Linked DNA regions of Homo sapiens: all the other regions are linked to region 4. The links are contacts of gene promoters, found by promoter capture Hi-C in blood cells and fetal thymus (Javierre and others, 2016). All regions are on one chromosome and are shown on one strand. Each heading gives the region's core, a stretch centred on a gene start or on the middle of the fragment in contact. The rest is flanking DNA. Distances are from core to core; before and after follow the strand shown.

Region 1 (4,489 bases), core at 1,095-3,594, 480 kb after region 4:
GCACATGCCACTATGCCCAGCTAATTTTTGTATTTTTAGTAGAGACGGGGTTTCACTATGTTGGCCAGGATGGTCTTGATCTCTTGAACTCGTGATCCACCCACCTCAGCCTTGCAAAGTGCTAGGATTACAGGCATGAGCCACCGTGCCTGGCCTGCTTTTTCAGTTTCTTAATGATATCTATCAAAGAATAGAAATTTTACATTCCTTTCTTATTTTTTGAGATATGGTTTCACTCTGTTGCCCAAGCTGGAGTGCAGTGGCATGATCACAGCTCACTGAAGCCTTGATCTCCCAGGCTCAAGTGATCCTCCCACCTCAGCCTCCCGAGTAGCTAGGACAACAGGTGTGTGCCACCACGTTCAGCTAAATTTTGTATTTTTTGTAGAAAAGGGGTCTTACTTTGTTGCCCAGGCTGGTCTCCATCTCCTGGGCTCAAGAGATCCTCCTGCCTTGGGGCTCCCAACGAGCTGGGATTACAGGAGTGAGCTATGCCCCCAGCCTAAAAGTTTTAAATTCTGATGAGGTCTAATTTATCCATTTTTTCCTATGGTTAGTGCTTCTGAGAAATCTTAGATCACCTCAGTGTCAAACAGATACATTATCCTATGCTCTCTCTAGGGGCTTTATCTTTCTAACATTTCTGTTGAAGCCCATGATCCTCTCAAATTAACTGTTGTGTGCTTTACAAGGTAATGTTTGAGGTTCATTTTTCTACATATGGACATCCAGTTATTCCAGCATCATTTGTTGAAAACGTTCCTTTCCCCATTGAATTGTCTTGGCATCTCTGTCAAAAATCAGTTGGCCACATATGTATGGGTCTATATCTGGACTCAATTCTGATCTATCTATGGCTGTCTTTTTGCCAATACCTCACTGTCTTGATTACAATGGCTTTTAAAATCTTTTTTTTTTTTTTTTAAGACAGCATCTCGCCCTGTCTTCCAGGCTGGAGTGCAGTGGTGTGATCATGGCTCACTGCAGCCTCCACGTTCTGGGCTCAAGCAATCCTCCCACTTCACCCCCCGAGTAGCCGGGACTACAGGCATGCATCACCATGCCCAGCTAATTTTTTATTTATTTACTTTTTTGTAGAGACTGGGGTCCCACTATGTTGCCCAGGCTGGTCTTGAACTCAACTCCTGGACTCAAGCAATCCTCCCACCTTGGCCTCCTAAAGTGCTGGGATTACAGGCATGAGCCGCCGTGCCCAGCCAGGTCTTCATTTTTTTTGTTCAATCTGACGTTTCTGCCTTTTTATTAGAATATTTAACTTCCATTTAATTGCTGAAATTAATGTCATTGTTGGTAGTTTTGGGTTTAGGTCTATCTTTTGACATTGGTTTTCTTTTTTCCCCTCAATTTTTTTGTTCCTTTGGCAGCTTACACTTCTATTTTTTGGCACCTTAAGTCAATCAGATTGTGCCAAGTTCTGGCCCTCTCCTGGCCCCACACTGCCTGCCTTCCAACCTCACATGAGGGCAGCTGGGGGGAGGCAGGAGACCTCTCTGTGTGATGTCCCTTTAAAGGGCTGATGGCCTCCAGTTTCTGTCCACTTTTTCAGGTGCTCTGTAGTGCCTTCAAATAGATTTTTAAAAATACTTTGCCTGGAGTTTATCATTTTTATCTGTGGGAGATGATTTAATCTAGCTCATTACCAGATGCTGTCATGGCTGCAACCAGAAACTGACCTGACTGGCTGTACTGAGCCACAGTGCAGGCTTAGAAAAAGTGGCTTGTCACACCCATTTCAATTTCTGCCTACTGTCTGATAGGGCATATTGATGGAGCTGACTGTGTCCTCCAAACAGAACAGGGACAAGAGGAAAGGGTAAGAAGAGACAGAAGCACTGACATGAGTGCTTCTGATGATAGGAGAGAATGTGGATTTATGGGATCACTCATAAACTGTTGCAGGAAGTGCAGATGAGCACCAACACTTTTGAAATGAGTCTGGCAGGATCTATGAAAGTTGAACTTTTGTATTCCAAATACACTTCCACTCCTAAGTATCTATCCCAGAGTGTCCAGAGCAACATTGTTTGTAATAAAAAACAAAACCTGGAAGCATCTCAAGTGCCTACCAGCAGGAGGATGGCTACACTGCCATACGTTTTCACAATGGACTATGCATAACAGTACTTCCCCACAGCCACACATGGCAACGTCAAGAAGTCTCTGCTGAGTGGAAAAGCAAGTCTCAAAAGATTGCACAGAGTATGCTGCTCCTGTTTGTTTTATATAGTGCAAAAACAACCAAAACTAAACAAAACATTGTTTAGGCAGTCATATATATGTGATCAAACTACTTTCAGAAAGAGCAAAGGGATAATAAACATAAAATTCATTTTTTTTTTTTTTTTTGAGATGGAGTCTCGCTCTGTCGCCCAGGCTGGAGTGCAGTGGCGCAATCTCAGCTCACTGCAAGCTCCGCCTCCCGGGTTCATGCCATTATCCTGCCTCAGCCTCCTGAGTAGCTGGGACTATAAGCGCCCACCACCATGCCCGGCGAATTTTTTTGTATTTTTAGTAGAGACAGGGTTTCACCGTGTTAGCCAGGATGGTCTCGATCTCCTGACCTTGTGATCTGCCTGCCTCGACCTCCCAAAGTGCTGGGATTACAGGTGTGAGCCACCACGCCTGGCACATAAAATTCAAACCAGAGGTTACCTGGAGGGAGAGAGGCAGGGAGGAGCACGTGGATAGACATATATTCAGATTATTAGATATCAGGTTTACAGATACTCATTTTATTAAGAAGGAATTAATGAATAAAACACAGAGAGAAAAGAGGGTCACGCATCTACCAAATATGACATGAAGGGTTTTGATTAGCTAAAAATGGACAGTCAAGAAGGCAGAGGGTCAAAAGATGTAGATGGCCATCAGTTAAAAAGACAGGCACTCAGGTCCAGCTCTAGGAAGAGAAATAAACTAACAGATACCTATGCAGGCATTGGCAAAGCAAAGAGACTTTCCTTTCCTTTGTTGAGCTGAAGGCGAGGGTGGTGAATTCCTGTTTGTTTTTGGATCCCTGCCTTGCCTCACACCAGGACCCAGTGTGTGGTCCCACGTCCTTAGATACGTATGCCTGGTCAGGGTACTAGTCTCAATTAAAAGCAACTGCAACATCAGTCCCAATCCATAGTGCCCACGGCCAACATAGAGGCTGAGGGTGAAGCTAAGAAGAAAAAGAGGCGCGAGCTAACCCTAAAGAGCACAGTGGCACTCCTCCGTGGCCTCTGCTCCAACCCAGGTGTGCTCCGCGAGGCCACAGGTGAGACTCCCCAGAGGCCCGTTCCTAATGGGGTCTACAAAGAATGCACAAGGGAGGCTCAGAGACATTTACAGTTAGGCTCAAAATAACCGTGAGGGCCAGCTGTGCCTTCCAGCCGAGCCACCTCCAAAATTCTAGGTGGGACCATGGATAGCGCAGCTTGCTACAGCCCAGCTAACTTCTCCAGGGAAAGTGAGGGTGGGAAAAAATAAATCACAAATATTTACTGTTGGCCAGGCACAGTGGCTCAAGCCTGGAATCCAAGCACCTTGGGAGGGCAAGGTGGGAGGATCCCTTGAACCCAGCTGTTTGAGACCAGCCTGAGCAACAGAGAGACTCTATCTCTACAAAAAAAAATTTAAAAATTAGCTGGGCGTGGTGGCTTGAACCTGTGGTCCCAACTACTTGGGAGGCTGAGGTGGGGGGATCGCTTGAGCCCACGAAGCCAAAGGCTGCAGTGAGCCATGATCATACCACTGCACTCCAGCCTTGGTGGCAGAGTAAGAGCCTGTCTCAAAAAATAAAATAAAATAAAAATATATTTATTGTTGCTTTAAAAAGCAGAAACAGGCTGGGTGTGGTGGCTCACACCTGTAACCCCAGCACTTTGGGAGGCCAAGGTGGGAAGATTGCTTGAGCCTCAGAGGTTGAGACCAGCCCGGGCAACATGGTGAAACCCCATCTCTAATAAAAATACAAAAATTAGTGCTTCCTCCAGTCCGTGCCTCCAATATGATGAAAAAAAGAAGGAACAACGGTCGTACCAAAAAGGGCCGCGGCCACGTGCAGCCTATTTGCGACACGAACTGTGCCCAATGTGTGCCCAAGGACAAGGCTATTAACAAATTCATCATTGGAAACACAGTGGAGGCTGCAGCAGTCAGGGACATTTCTGAAGCGAGCGTCTTTGATGCCTATGTGCTTCCCAAGCTGTATTTGAAGCTACATTACTGTCTGAGTTGTGCAATTCACAGCAAAGTAGTCAGGAATCGATCTTGTGAAGCCCACAAGGACTGAACACCCCTACTCCAATTTAGACCTGCGGATGCTGCCCCACAACCCCCACCAAAGCCCACGTAAGGAGTTGAGTCCTTAAAGTCTGAAGACGGACTATTCTCTTGAGAAAAATAAAATGGAAATTGTACTTAATTAAAAAATACAAAAAGTAGCCATGAGTGGTGACATGCACCTGTGGTCCCAGCTACACGC
Region 2 (4,560 bases), core at 1,188-3,687, 510 kb after region 4:
TTTAAAAATGAGGATTAAAAGATTCAATTTCTCATCCTACAGATGTTTCATCAAGAAAAGATGAAACTGGCTGGCGCAGTGGCTCACGCCTGTAATCCCAGCACTTTGGGAGGCCGAGGTGGGTGGATCACCTGAGGTCGGGATTTCGAGACCAGCCTGACCAACATGGAAAACCCTGTCTCTACTAAAAACACAAAATTAGCTGGGCGTGATGGTGCATGCCTGTAATCCCAGCTACTCGGGAGGCTGAGGCAGGAGAATCACTTGAACCCGGAAGGCAGAGGTTGCGGTGAGCCGAGATTGCACCACTGTACTCCAGCCTGGGCAACAAGAGTGAAACTCTGTCTCAAAAAAGAAAAGAAAAGAAAAGATGAAACTGACACATCAGAGAATTCTCTGACTCATGAGATGGAGACATCTGCTACAGAGAAAGTGGGCTAAACTGTAAATAAAGACAAAAAATGTGAGGAAAGTTATTTTTCCCTTGCCTTTACAGATGTTAATGATTTACCTTATTGTGTCTTATGCAACAATATTTTGAATACTGTTATGGTGCAAGTTAACTGCCACATCAGTTTGAGACCAATCATTCAGAGTCTGAAGAAAAAAAATTTAAATGCAGATGTGATAAATTAATATGTCACCAAGAGAACTGTACTTCTGCCTTACAATAGAATCTCTGGACTTACTGTATTGCTTGTACTTGTCTGGTATCAGCACCAACTTAAGCACAGAAGCTCTTTTATATGAAAGTTGGCCACACACCCAAGTGGTAGGGAAATACTTAAAGTACTGAATAACTATTTTGAATCTCCTGGTTTTTCCTGGAATAACCGTGTTGACATTTGCACTGATAGCGCAAAAGCAACAGTGGGTAACACAGCTGTGTCTCAGTGGGAATCAGAGCCGAGACAGCCCTCACGCTACTCTTCACCACCACACACACACAGTCGAAACACTGCATTTTCACATATGAATGTCTGATGAAGCAGTTTAACATACTGACTTTATTAAACTGTTGCCCTCAAGGATACTTTTAAAAAAGAATTCTGTACGGTGAAAAGGAAAGTGTGCATAAAGCACTTCTGCTTCATAACAAAAAAAGACGGTTGCCTGGAGAAAAGCACTCCACTTGTACACCTGCACAACTCTTTCAGCAGTGGGCTCACTTGACCACTTTTTGTCATGGAAATTGACCTGAAAGAATGACTAGCAGACAGGCAGTGGTCAGTCACATTTTAGGATTAGGCACATACTTTCTCAATAATTAGCAAAGTGACTCAGTCCCCTAAGGAAAATGACTGACAGTGTTTGTAGCCCATGATAAATTTTAGCTTTTAAGCAGAAATTAGAATCTTGGAAAATCTATGTCCACCAACATAAGCTTGACAGCTTCCCAATACTTAAAGTCATTTCTGATGAGCTCCATGGTGGCAGTAATGACTATAGGTTTTGATACTGCATATGAAATATGTCAATGTTTGGAAGATATACATAACTCAATGAATGAAGATTTTCCAAATGAACCATGCATAATGCTACAAAATTATGTGTGTTGGCAAAAAAGATCCATTGAAAGTGCAAGACAGACCAATGGGTTTCTAATGTAACAGAGTATGGAAAGTTAACTGACATAATTTCAGATTCCACATTGCAACTACCCTTTAAAAAATGACCATTTTCAAATTTTGGTGAGCTATCAAAGCAGAATTATCCACAATGATCTGCAATGGCTACTAGAATATTCCCGCCTTTCCCAATTACTATCTATGTGGGGCTGGATTTTCTTCATACACTTCAACCAAAACAACACGTCCCACCAGAAGCAGATATGAGAATTCAGCAGTCTTAGGGTAGAAAATGAGACTTGCAAAAATGTAAAAACAATGCTGCTTTTGTCAAACATTTTTTTTTTTGCCTTGGAAAAGAGCATTGCTTTTCATAAAAATAAGCTATTTGTGTTAACGTGTAATAAAATTATTTTTATTTTTTAAGTAACAAACACATTTTTAAAAATTTAGTTTCAAATATGATAAATATTAATAAGGGTTTAACAGATTTTTAAAACTCTTGGGAATGTATGAACACAAAGAAGGAAACAATAGTCGCTGGGGCCTACCTGAGCAACGGTAGGAGGGAGAGGAGCAGAAAAGGTAACTACTGGGGACTGAGCTTAATACCTGGGTGATGAAATAATATGTACAACAAAACCCTATGACATGTGTTTACCTATGTAACAAACCTTCACATGTACCCCCAAACCTAAAATAAAAGTTAAAAATAAAAAAATAAAATGTTTTGGGATCCTCAGTAATTTTTTTTTTTTTTGAGATGGAGTCTCGCTCTGTTGCCCAGGCTGGAGTGCAGTGGCACAATCTCGGCTCACTGCAATCTCCGCCTCCCAGGTGGAAGCGATCCTCCTGACTCAGCCCCCCTAGTAGCTGGGATTAGAGGCACACACCACCATGCTTGACTAATTTTTGCATTTTTAGTAGAGACAGGGTTTCACCATGTTGGCCAGGCTGGTCTCAAACTCCTGACCTCAGGTGATCCACCCGCCTTGGCCTCCCAAAGTGCTGGGATTACAGGTGTGAGCCACCACACCTGGCCGGGATACTCAGTAATTTTTAAGAGTATAAAGGGTACTGAGACAAAAACGTTTGGACACTGCTGTCGTACAGTCTTTCCAACACACCACAGCCTTCTAAGAAAAGGAAAAACGACGCAGGATGACAGGAAACATTTGCCACTTACAGCAAAATGGCCTCGTTTACAGCCTCAAAGAACTCTGGCTGGAGGATTTCCTGAGGTTCACGTCCATGACAGATGAGGAGAGCCTCCACCAGGGGGTCAACATCTGTCAGGGTAATAAGTGGGACACAAACTCGTGACAGGGACGCCACTCGCTCGGGAGCCATTCTATGGAAGAAATAAGAAATAATCACTCAAATCTAAGAGCCATGCATAATTAAGGACATATAAAAACCTTCATGCTAAAAAGGTCAAAGACAGATCACCTGTTTTGCCTCTAAATAAAGAGAATGACTCTAACACCATCGATGAACACTTCTCTTTTATCCAATTCTTTAGGAAGAAATCTTTTAGCTACCATTGCTGTTTCAGTGTCATTCATGGTCAGGACTTTGTTCTTTATATTCACAGGCACTTAATATGTCCAAAACACAACTCCTGAATTCCCTTCCCAGTGTTCCCTTTCCCCAGTGCTATCTTGTTTGCTCAGGCCCAAATCCTGATTCCTCCCTTTCTCTCAGGCCCCTCATCTGATCCATCAGTGAATACTAGCAACACATCTGACCTCTTCTGAACACCTCCATCACTGTCCTCCTAAGTGGAGAGTAACTCACCACCACCTCTAGCCTGGGTGACAGAGTAGCCTCTGGATTTCTTGTTTCTGCACTCACTCCTATAGTTTAACATCAGAACAGTTCCAGCACCCCTTTAAAAATTCCGATCACAACACTTGTCTGCTCAAAGCTTTGCAATGGCTTCTCACCTCATGTAGAGAATAAGCAATGTCTTTCACTAGCCAGCAAGTCCTTCCATGGTGGGTCCCCATCTGTTTCACTGACTTAATCTCCTTCCACTCTTACCTTTGTCTTTTCTGCCTCTGACTGCCCCAAATAAAGTCCTGCTGTTCACTCTGCCTGAAATACATGATTAGCTCCCTGGTTGCAGCTCAAATGTCCCTTTGTTAAGTGAGGTCTTCTCTGATCATCCCATGTCACTATACTGTCTACCATGTGTGGCAATTTAAATGCAAATGAATTAAAATGAAATAAAATTAAAAATCCAGCTCCTCAACTGCACTAGTCACAGTTCAAGTGCTCAACAGCTATAGGTGGCTGGCGGCTACAGTACCGAACAGTGCACATTTACAGGATGTGCCTGGGACTGCAGAAAGCGCCACTGGACACTCGAGCTTCAAGTGCCCTCTTACCCGTGCTTTACTTCTCTTCCTGGTACCTTTCACCACCTGACCTACACAGTATTCCCTTATAGTACTCATGGTTCGCTTCCTCCTCTGAGGGCAGAAGCTCTACAATGGCAGGCAGCTTCTCCTACTTTGCCCACCGCTCTATTCCTAGCACCTAGGGATAACTCCTCACACACAGCACGTGCTCAACAAATCCGTCTCCAGTGAATGATAAATAAAATGAAAGTTCTGGGTGGAGGCTATTCTAGGTATTTTCATATGTAATTGTAAATATAGAAATTTAGTCTTGTGTTTTGTGAAACACAAATGAAACCACAGTATAGAGCATGTAGCTGTTCCTCATTCTTAAAAACTTGCTGCCTATTATTAAAACAAACATGTTCTGTAATTTAACAATGCCACTATCAGTAGGCACTGAGGCTGTTTCTGGTTTTTCACTATTCAGACAGGGCTGTGGTGCTACCCTTGCCCATGCCTGTCTGTGCCCATGTGTGAGTATTTGCATACTGAATTGCCTTCCAAGGCCAGGGGTGGTGGCTCACACATGGAGACCCAGCACTTTGAAAGGCTGAGGCAGGCAGATCGCTTGATCCCAGAAGTTTAAG
Region 3 (4,501 bases), core at 1,471-3,970, 410 kb after region 4:
ATTCTAAAACTTAACCATTTTTGCGAAATTTTTCTAAACAAATTTCCTGAAGTCTTGCATACATTTGAGAATTTAGATTATTGCTAGAAAGCACATCTTAGGTTTTAATCATGTTCATGCCAACGCCTATGAAAAGACCTACCAGGATTTTAGATCCATAGTTAACCACCACTTGTGAGTATCCATTTTGCATTTTTGAAGACTCGTTGATTGACTATCAAGTACTTGAAATTATGTAAGAGAATACTTTTTTGGCAGCAAAGTCGCATTTCAGATCCCCTGCTCCCCTATCAACTTCAGGCTGCTCCAGGCTCTGGGTCCAGGCTGGAACTCACAGTAGAACTAAGATTATGTCTAAACTCATAGCAGTAAAGTGACGTTTTGCCATAAAAGAACATTTTTATAACGCTATTTCAGTCTACTTGTTTCCTTGGAAATAGTTTCTGTCGTGATGGGCAGTATCTAAATTAATGAATTATTCAGCTATTTGTGCAAAATGTGTAACTTAAGGGCAAACAGACTCGATGTTGTTCGCATCACCTCTCACACATTGGCAAGGCAGCCTTTTCTGTCCTATGTAATGTAGGAAAATTAAACATTTCTTGAAATCTGAGACTTCTGCCCTTGTTCTCCTGAAATTAAATCCATTTTATTTTCAGTAGCATGAATTTCCTTACATGTCCAAGAGGCTGTTAAGGAATTAATCCTTTGCTCTATTCCTCATAACACTTTTCACAGTTAATCTAGTGTGTAAACTGTGTGGACGAGAATCCAAAACTGCAGAATTTGGAGGAAATGTGACTCCTATGCCTTGTAGACATTAAATCATTCTGTGAAATAAAACTGAAACTTTGGATAGGAGATTGTACAGTACTCTCCACACATTTTTATTAAATGAAAACAACTTCCATTATTTTTCCAGCAATCCTTCATGTAGTTGGACTCACCTCACCACCTCCCCCCTGCTCCTTAGTTGTGGTCGGCTCTCCTTACAAATGGACAGGTTGCTTTGTCAACTTGGTGGCAGAAACCACCTGACAAATTGTAGACATGTGGCTAAAATTTATGCTTAGTTTGGATTTGGTAGAAAATAAAGAATATTAGAAAATAAAATGTGACCAAAAAAATATTTATGTTGTCTTGACTGTGTGTCTATGCACAAGAAAGGACAGGAACTGGGAGTAATGGAATGTTAGTGTTTCCGACTCCAGAATAAATACCCAAGAGTGAAAATAATTTATAAATTATGTTTCCTGCTTCAGAATTTGCTAAGAGTGTATGTGTGTGTCCATACTTGAATCACTTGCCTCACCTGAGGATCGGAGTGGTTGACTTGGTTTCTCTGTCCTTCTGTTGCTATTCTTTTTCTCACTTAGCAACTATTATGTTGTTATCTCTAAAATGTTTTTGTGGCTTACTTTTTTTTTTTTTTTTTTGAGACGGAGTCTCGCTCTGTCGCCCAGGCTGAAGTGCAATGGCGTGATCTCGACTCACTGCAACCTCCGCCTCCCAGGTTCGAGTGATTCTTCTGCCTCAGCCTCCCGAGTAGCTGGGACTACAGGTGCGCGCCACCACACCCAGCTAATTTTTGTATTTTTAGTAGAGATGGCGTTTCACCATGTTGGCCAGGATGGTCTCGATCTCTTGACCTTGTGATCTATCTGCCTCGGCCTCCCAAAATGTTGGGATTACAGGAGTGAGCCACTGTGCCCAGCCATACTTTTTTTTTTTAACTGTGAGTTTTGATTTTAAAAAACCCTTAATCGTTAATAGTAAGTTTTAACAAGGAGACTATGGAAGGCAAAGGGAGAGATCTTTCTAAGACATACAGTTGAGTTTTTGCACATAAAGCAAACTAGATTGTTATAACTCCTCATACAGCCCATCTATTTGCTTTTTAAAAAATTGCAGAGCTATCATTTCATTGATTGCAGTTTGTTATAATTAAAGAGGCATTTTCAGTCATTTTACCATTAGCTTTTTAAATATGAAGAATAATTAACCAGATCTGTACTGTAAAGAATGTTTATGAAACTTTTTTTTTTTTTTTGAGACGGAGTCTCACTCTTTTGCCCAGGCTGGAGTGCAGTGGCACAATCTTGGCTCACTGCAAGCTCTGCCTCCCAGGTTCACGCCATTCTCCTGCCTCTGCCTCCCAAGTAGCTGGGACTACAGGCGCCTGCCACCACACCCGGCTCATTTTTTGTATTTTTAGTAGAGACAGGGTTTCACTGTGTTAGCCAGGATGGTCTTGATCTCCTGACCTCGTGATCTGCCCACCTCGGCCTCCCAAAGTGCTGGGATTACAGGCGTGAGCCACCGTGCCTGGCCTATGAAACTTTTTAAGTTGATAAATTTGTATTTTTTAGATATGTTCTAGTTGAGGAATGAGAACCACTCCTGGTCTGAATTTTCATGTGTTGCTATATAAATTTGCTTTTAATAAATTCTTTTAAATCACCAGATTGTTAATTGACAGCTATTCTTGCAGACATTGTTACCTTATTATTTCTTCTTACTATATTGGGCATTAAGTCGTTTATTTCAATGTGATAAACATTTGACTATCAAGGATGGGGGTAGATAGCACATGACATGAGCAAAATCTGGTTCCAGTATTTAAGACACAGCCTTAAAAATGTATATTCCTTTTATAGAAGTTAAAATATAGTTTTCTTTGAACTCGGTTATTCCTTGTTTAAACTCAAAAGGAGAGGATCCTATTTTCTGTACATAAAATTCTGAAGATAGGTATTTTCTGTAAGAGCTGAGTTTTTTCCCCATTTGCTAATCCCTTCTAATTTAGAGGAAAAACCATATTATCACACTGAATGTTAGTGATGATTGCCTATTTGTCCATATGAACACAGTAATTTTGTGCATAGTATAGATTACTATTCACCAGGAATATAGGGCTGTATAAAAAACATTTAACCAAAGAAGAATCGTGTTGATAAATTATTAACTAAAATTACTAAATTTGTAATGAATAATCCTACACAGACCATCTGATTGTGATTTTTGACATATTGGAGTAATATAGGAAGTTATAGAAAGGAAGAAATTCTGGGTTTGGATGAAATTACTGGTTTTTTCCCTTGGAAAAAAAATCTGAATATATTTTATAATTTGTTAGTATTGTAAGTAACAGCCTAAAAACCTGAGCATGTGACTGTTTGACACTGTGCTTCCTATATATCTGTTTACAGAATATTTGGAAAATTTTAAATTCTTCCAGTTCTTGATTGCTGCTTGCACAGAACCAATGTTAAAATGTTATGACTAAGACTAGAGAGACAATGATAGGTTTCTCGGTGCACACTTAGTGCTAGGAGGTCTTCCCATACCTACCGGGCCAGCTTTAGAGAAACCCCTGGTTTCCAGTTGCCTGGTTCAGTACTTTGTTAGAGCACATGCTTTAATTATTTTCAGTGTTCTTAGGTTTGGTTGTGGTAATGAATTTCTTCATAAAGTAGATCTCTCTTTTAAGTGAATTATTAGGAAATACTTGTAGCATGATTTAAGAAAAATATTTCAGCTTCAGCTGGAAGCAGAAAAATGGACAGAGGGGAAGCCAGAGAGTTCAGGTAGGTTACTCGGAGAAACAGTTGACACAAAGCATTCCTTATTTTCTTATTATGTATCTTTAGAATGTAATTTACACAAATTGAACCATAGTTTACATTTTATTCTGAACCTTTTTTCTAAAAACATTTCTTGCCATCTTCCTATATTACAAAAATAATTCCATCTCATTCTTTTTAATAGCTACATAGTATTCCATTGCATGGCTACATACCATATAGGATGTTTTGATTCATATACTCAACCAACCGTTTTTTTACAGTAAAGGTATACTCATATGCTGGGCCTTAGGGGGTTATAAGTTAATGTATAACTAGAATTGGAGCTAGCAAATGTCACTGTTTGTAAATTAGGAACTCAGAATTATAAAATGTATACTCTCCTTCAAGATAAATACAACAAGTATATTACGTACACTGTTATTAATTTAGGTAAGAGCATTAATTCATTTTTGTTGTTGTTGTTGTTGTTGTTGTTGTTGGATACAGAGTCTTGCTCTGTTGCCCAGGCTGAAGTCTACTGGATTAATCATAGCTCACCGCAGCCTCCAACTCCAGGGCTCAGATGATCCTCCCACTTCAGCCTCCCAAATAGCTGGGACTACAGATGCATATCACCACACCTAATTTTGGGGGTGGGTAGGGAGCGAGGTCTCACTGTGTTGCTCAGGCTGGTCTGAAACTCCTGAGCTCAAGCCATTCTCCTGTCTAGACCTCCCAGAGTGCTGGGATTACAGGTGTGAGCTACCACTTGTGGCAAAAGCATTAATTCTAAGGAAACAAAAAGAAGGAAATTTTTATGAAAATGTGAATACAAGAAAAGTTAGGAATATTCTGATACTTTAAAGTATTCCAATTTCTTTAGAAATATTCAGGCATATATTGAACATGCCATTGTTGTCATGGCAGGGTGAATA
Region 4 (4,485 bases), core at 542-3,041:
GGAATGTTAGTAAAGTGTATGGACAATCTGAAAACCCAGTTACACTTCAGTTAAAAGTGTGGATCAGTTAGCTAGAAAATACCTGCGCACGGCGGCTCATGCCTGTAATCCCAGCACTTTGGGAGGCCAAGGCATCACCGGAGGTCGGGAGTTCGAGACCAGCCTGACCAACATGGAGAAACCCCGTTTCTACTAAAAAAAATTACAAAATTAGCTGGGCATGGTGGCACATGCCTGTAATCCCAGCTACTCGGGAGACTGAGGCAGGAGAATCGCTTGAACCTGGGAGGCAGAGGTTGCGGTGAGCCAAGATCGCACCATTGCACTCCAGCCTGGGCAACAAGAGCAAAATTCCATCTCAAAAAAAAAAAAAAAAAGAAAAGAAAAAGAAAATACCTGTGCACACCAACACAAACGAAAGGATGTTGTGTGACTTACAAAAAACCTCACAAGAAGGGGTCCTTTGAGTCTCCACTCCACTTGACCCCTTGCTACTCACAATGTGATGAGTAGACAAACAGTATCTGATGGGCAGCACCCACCACAGGAGAACTTCTTAGAAATGCAGAATCTCAGGACCTGTCCCAGAGCTATGGAAGGAGGGCACACATCTTACCAAGATCCCCAAATGATTCCTGTGCCCAGTGACGTTCGAGATGCACTCCATAGCGCATTCAGAACCATTCTACAAACCACTTTTGAGCTTTCCACTAATTGGGCAGAGGCTGCACACACCATCATTGCAAATCGATAGGGGTTTTGAAGCCCTGGGTGTTTCCTGTTTCTGGCACAGCATGGCAACTGTCCCAGCAAGGGGCAGCCCACGGGAGCTCCTTTGCACACAAGCCCTGCTGCTCCTAAAGGCTCTGGACACACAGGAGACCTCCCAGCCTGCTTGCGGGGGGGGCGGGGGGGACACTCGCTCCTAACAGGTCTTGTTTCAGGTCAGAGATAACTGGATTAGAAACCTGACTTGGGTCCCTAATTGCAGAAAGAGTGAAGGAGGACAAAGAAGAAATGGGGAAGGAAGGCACCTGAGCTAGCACTTTCCTGTCTGAGGCTAGGGCGGGTATGACGGGCAGGCCAGGTGCCCACACTTGGCCGGCTGAGAGGGGTACGAGGCAGGCTGCTCAGGGCAGAGAAGAGGAATGCAAGATGGAATCAGGTGTACACCTGTGAGACGGACCCCCAGGTGGGCCCCTCCAAGGTCAAGGGAGGAGATGAGGACTTGAGTGAGGCTGAGCCAGCTTCTGGAGAGAGGGGCTACCAGACAGAGAGCGAGAGAGGCGCTCAGACATCAGACGGACAGACAGAGGCTGACGGCAGGAGGCTCAGAGGGCCCAACGTCAGCCCGCCGGGCAGGCTCCCCAGGCAGACAGACAGGACGGGGCCCACCGCCCAAGGCCCGACTCACAGGTGCGCGATGCCCGCCTTGCGCACCGCCGAAGAGATGGCTTTGACTGCTGTGCAGAGCGAGTTGAGCAGCTGGGTCAACTCGCCCGTGCCGCGGGCCTTCCTGCCCTCCTCCATGACGAAGCGGGTCAGGGTGTTGACGTCCGTGTCGAAGGGCGCCTGGTCAGCCATGCTTGAACCGGGTAGAGCGCGGGGCTGCAGGTGCAAGCGGCAGGTGCGGGGCTGCAGGTGCGGGCGGCAAGAGAGGGCAGTAGGCACTGGCCGCAGGTGCGGAGCTGCAGGTGCGGGCGGCAGGTGCGGGCCGCGGGACCTGGCGGGAGGACTGACAGACCGACTGCCGCCCCGAGTGTCCGCAGCGCTCGTGGTGCAACTGGGCCAGGCCAGGCGCCGGCGGGTGAATCGCGGAAACCTTTAGACGCGGGTCGGCCCCCCGCCCCCGGGAACACTCTTGCGCCCCGCCTACCCCGCGGACCAGACCGCGGCTCCGCCTGCTTGGATCTTCAGACAAGGTCGGGGATCCTCCCTGCGGTCTCCCAACCCCCGCCCCCACGCGCCCTGCCGCCCCCTAGTCTTCCTGGGCTGTCGCCCCCCACACACACCCCTCCGTGCCCTCCACCCGCACTGTGGAGCGGGACTCGGGCCATCGGACTCTGCCAGAGAGAAAGCTATGACTGTTTCCTCCAAAATCATAAAACGGAAGTTCAGAAAGGTTAAGTAACTTGCTCAATGCCACCAGCTAGGCAGCGAAACCCGCAGCCAGTCCACATGGCCTGGCTTTAGCTCTGCAGCTCCTGCCCCGTGTGGCTGCCTGCCCCCGCCCCCTGCCCAAGCCCCGTCCACTCTGCCTGGCCTGTCACCTGGCCCTTCTGTCCCCGCTAGGAGACACAGAGTCCCCGTTTCTCACCCATCTGAGGGCCCACGTCTGAATCCTTAATCCAGGCCTCTTCTCAAGATTCCTAGAATTCGAGAGCTATTGAGTATTTGAATTTCCAAGATGTGAGTCTCGCCCGGAAGTTTCCCGGAAAACGGTCGCTGACACAGAGTCCTCGGCTACCACACAAAGGCCAGAGGGCTCCACCGCCCGCATCCTGACCCCCTGGTAGCCACAATGCTGCAATTGATGTGCTGATTCACGAAACAACACCTATTGAGCACCTGCTGTGCTGAACACTGTCCTACCTTCCAGGGGTGGAGCCTGATCCAAACAGACAAAACTCCTGCCCTTTTCGAGTGTACGTTTTCACAGAGAAACAGTAAAAATAAATATATAAACAATAGATTAGTTTGTTACATAAGCCATAAGTACCATAGAGAGAAACGAAATAGAAAAGGAAGACACGGAATGTGGAGGGGAGAAGAGGGTGAGCAGAGGCCTCAGTAAAAGCTTCTCTGAGAAAGGGATATGTGAGCAAAGAGGTGAAGGATGCAACGCGCCGGTGGAGATGGGAAGGAGAGCGGTTTCCTCACCGGGAGAGCCAGTGCACAGGCCCTGGGGTAGGAGACCATGTTTCAGGTTCAGGGAATGGCCAGGAGACCGGTGGAGCTGAAATAGAGCTAGCAAGGGTCAGAGGTGGAGGAGATAAGGCCAGCGGGAGGATGCAGAGGTGAGGTCTAGAGGGCCAAGTGAGGTTTGACTTTGACTAGGAGGAACCCACTGGAGAGTTTGGAGAAGAAGAGAGGCATGGTCTACCCTGTGTCTTCATACTGCGGCTACTGTGTGAAGATCAGACTGAAGACAGTGCCCTCCAGGTTACTAGGAGATAGTGAGCCAGGTGTTAGCAGTGGAGGTGGTGGATTCTGGACATATTTTGAAGGTAGAGCTGATGGGATTCGTTGACAGATGAGATATGTGAGAGACAGGAGTCTCGGATGATTCTAAGGTTTGAGGCCTGAGAAACTAGAAGAATGCAGTTGTCCTCGACTGCGATGGGGAACACCGAGAGGGGCGTGTGCTGGAGGCAGGACTGACAATTAGGAGCTAAGTGTGGGACCTGCTAAGTTTGAAATGCCTTCTAGACATCCAAGGCAATGTCAAATAGACAGATTTATGTATCTGGAGTTCAGAGGAGAGATCCATGCTGCAGGTATAAATTGGAAAAGCCAACTGGAAAAACCAACCAAAAACCAAGAGATGTGACATCCGGGAAGCCAGATGAAGAAGGTAAGTAAAGGCGGGCTGACCCATGTGCCAAGCGGTGTGGATGGGGCAGGCAGGACAAGCTCTGAAAATTGACTGCTGGATTCACCGTGGAGACCTGGGGTGCAGATTCCTGTGCCCAGGGTTGTCAGATGCGGCGGCGTTGAATGAAGGAAGGTGGTGGTACCACCAGGAAAGACAGCGACTGTCTCCTCAAAGCCCCAGAGGGGACTTAGATGCCTGGCAAAGAGAGTTGATCCTTTAAGGGTCTTATTTAACTCTTTGTTCCTCAGGCAACTTTTCAGGAAAAACCCTGTGTTAAAAAAAATAGTAAGAGAAATACATCCTTAAACATAAAAACTCAAATAGGCCCGGCTCACTGGCTCACACCTGTAATCCCAGCACTTCACTTTGGGAGGCCGAGGCGGGCAGATCACCTGAGGTTGGGAGCTCGAGACCAGCCTGACCAACATGGAGAAACCCCGTCTCTACTAAAAGTACAAAAATTAGCTGGGCATGGTGGTGCATGCCTGTAATTCCAGCTACTCAGGAGGCTGAGGCAGGAGAATCGCTTGAACCTGGGAGGCGGAGATTGCAGTGAGCAGAGATGGCACCATTGCAGTCCAGCCTGGGCATCAAGAACAAAACTCCATCTCAAAAAAAAAAAAAAAAAAGAAAAACAAACAAACTGGAGGCTGAGGCGGGCAGATCTTGAGGTCAGGAGTTCAAGACCAGCCTGGCCAACATGGTGAAACCCATCTCTACTAAAATAAAAAATTAGCCGGGCATGGTGGTGTGCACCTGTAATTCCAGCTACTCAGGAGGCTGAGGCAGGAGAATCGCTTGAACCCGGGAGACAGAAGTTGCAGTGAGTCAAGATCCTGCCGCTGCACTCCAGCCTGGGCAACAGAGCGAGATTCAATCTCAAAAAAAAA

What was found. The method cuts DNA at HindIII sites, captures the fragments that hold promoters and counts their contacts. A CHiCAGO score of 5 or more calls a contact.
Region 1: a contact is called between a fragment that was not itself captured here and the fragment with the promoter of FBP1 in region 4, in 2 of 17 cell types (M2 macrophages and monocytes). The highest score is 6.7, in M2 macrophages.
Region 2: a fragment that was not itself captured here is called in contact with the fragment with the promoter of FBP1 in region 4 in 2 of 17 cell types (endothelial precursors and M0 macrophages); the score reaches 6.2 in endothelial precursors.
Region 3: a contact is called between a fragment that was not itself captured here and the fragment with the promoter of FBP1 in region 4, in 1 of 17 cell types (monocytes). The highest score is 7.5, in monocytes.

What each region holds. Positions count from the first base shown.
Region 1 is chr9:95,119,509-95,123,997 of GRCh38, forward strand. All of the region lies in intron 10 of FANCC (FA complementation group C), which reads right to left. It also overlaps a transcript of AOPEP not described here and the pseudogene RPS26P37. Among named protein-coding and RNA genes, the nearest start is that of MIR3074, 36 kb to the left of the region's middle. The HindIII fragment of the contact is 6,876 bases long and covers 1-4,489 here.
Region 2 is chr9:95,147,169-95,151,728 of GRCh38, forward strand. It overlaps FANCC (FA complementation group C), which reads right to left. Exons shown (of 15, transcript NM_000136.3): 7 at 2,755-2,919. It also overlaps a transcript of AOPEP not described here. Among named protein-coding and RNA genes, the nearest start is that of MIR3074, 63 kb to the left of the region's middle. The HindIII fragment of the contact is 2,111 bases long and covers 1,383-3,493 here.
Region 3 is chr9:95,049,672-95,054,172 of GRCh38, forward strand. The region is part of intron 13 of AOPEP (aminopeptidase O (putative)); the gene reads left to right. Among named protein-coding and RNA genes, the nearest start is that of MIR6081, 13 kb to the right of the region's middle. The HindIII fragment of the contact is 6,308 bases long and covers 1-4,501 here.
Region 4 is chr9:94,637,727-94,642,211 of GRCh38, forward strand. FBP1 (fructose-bisphosphatase 1) reads right to left here and starts at 1,792. Exons shown (of 7, transcript NM_000507.4): 1 at 1,415-1,792. The coding sequence starts at 1,584. RefSeq lists a silencer at 1,866-1,925. The HindIII fragment of the contact is 3,451 bases long and covers 1-2,795 here.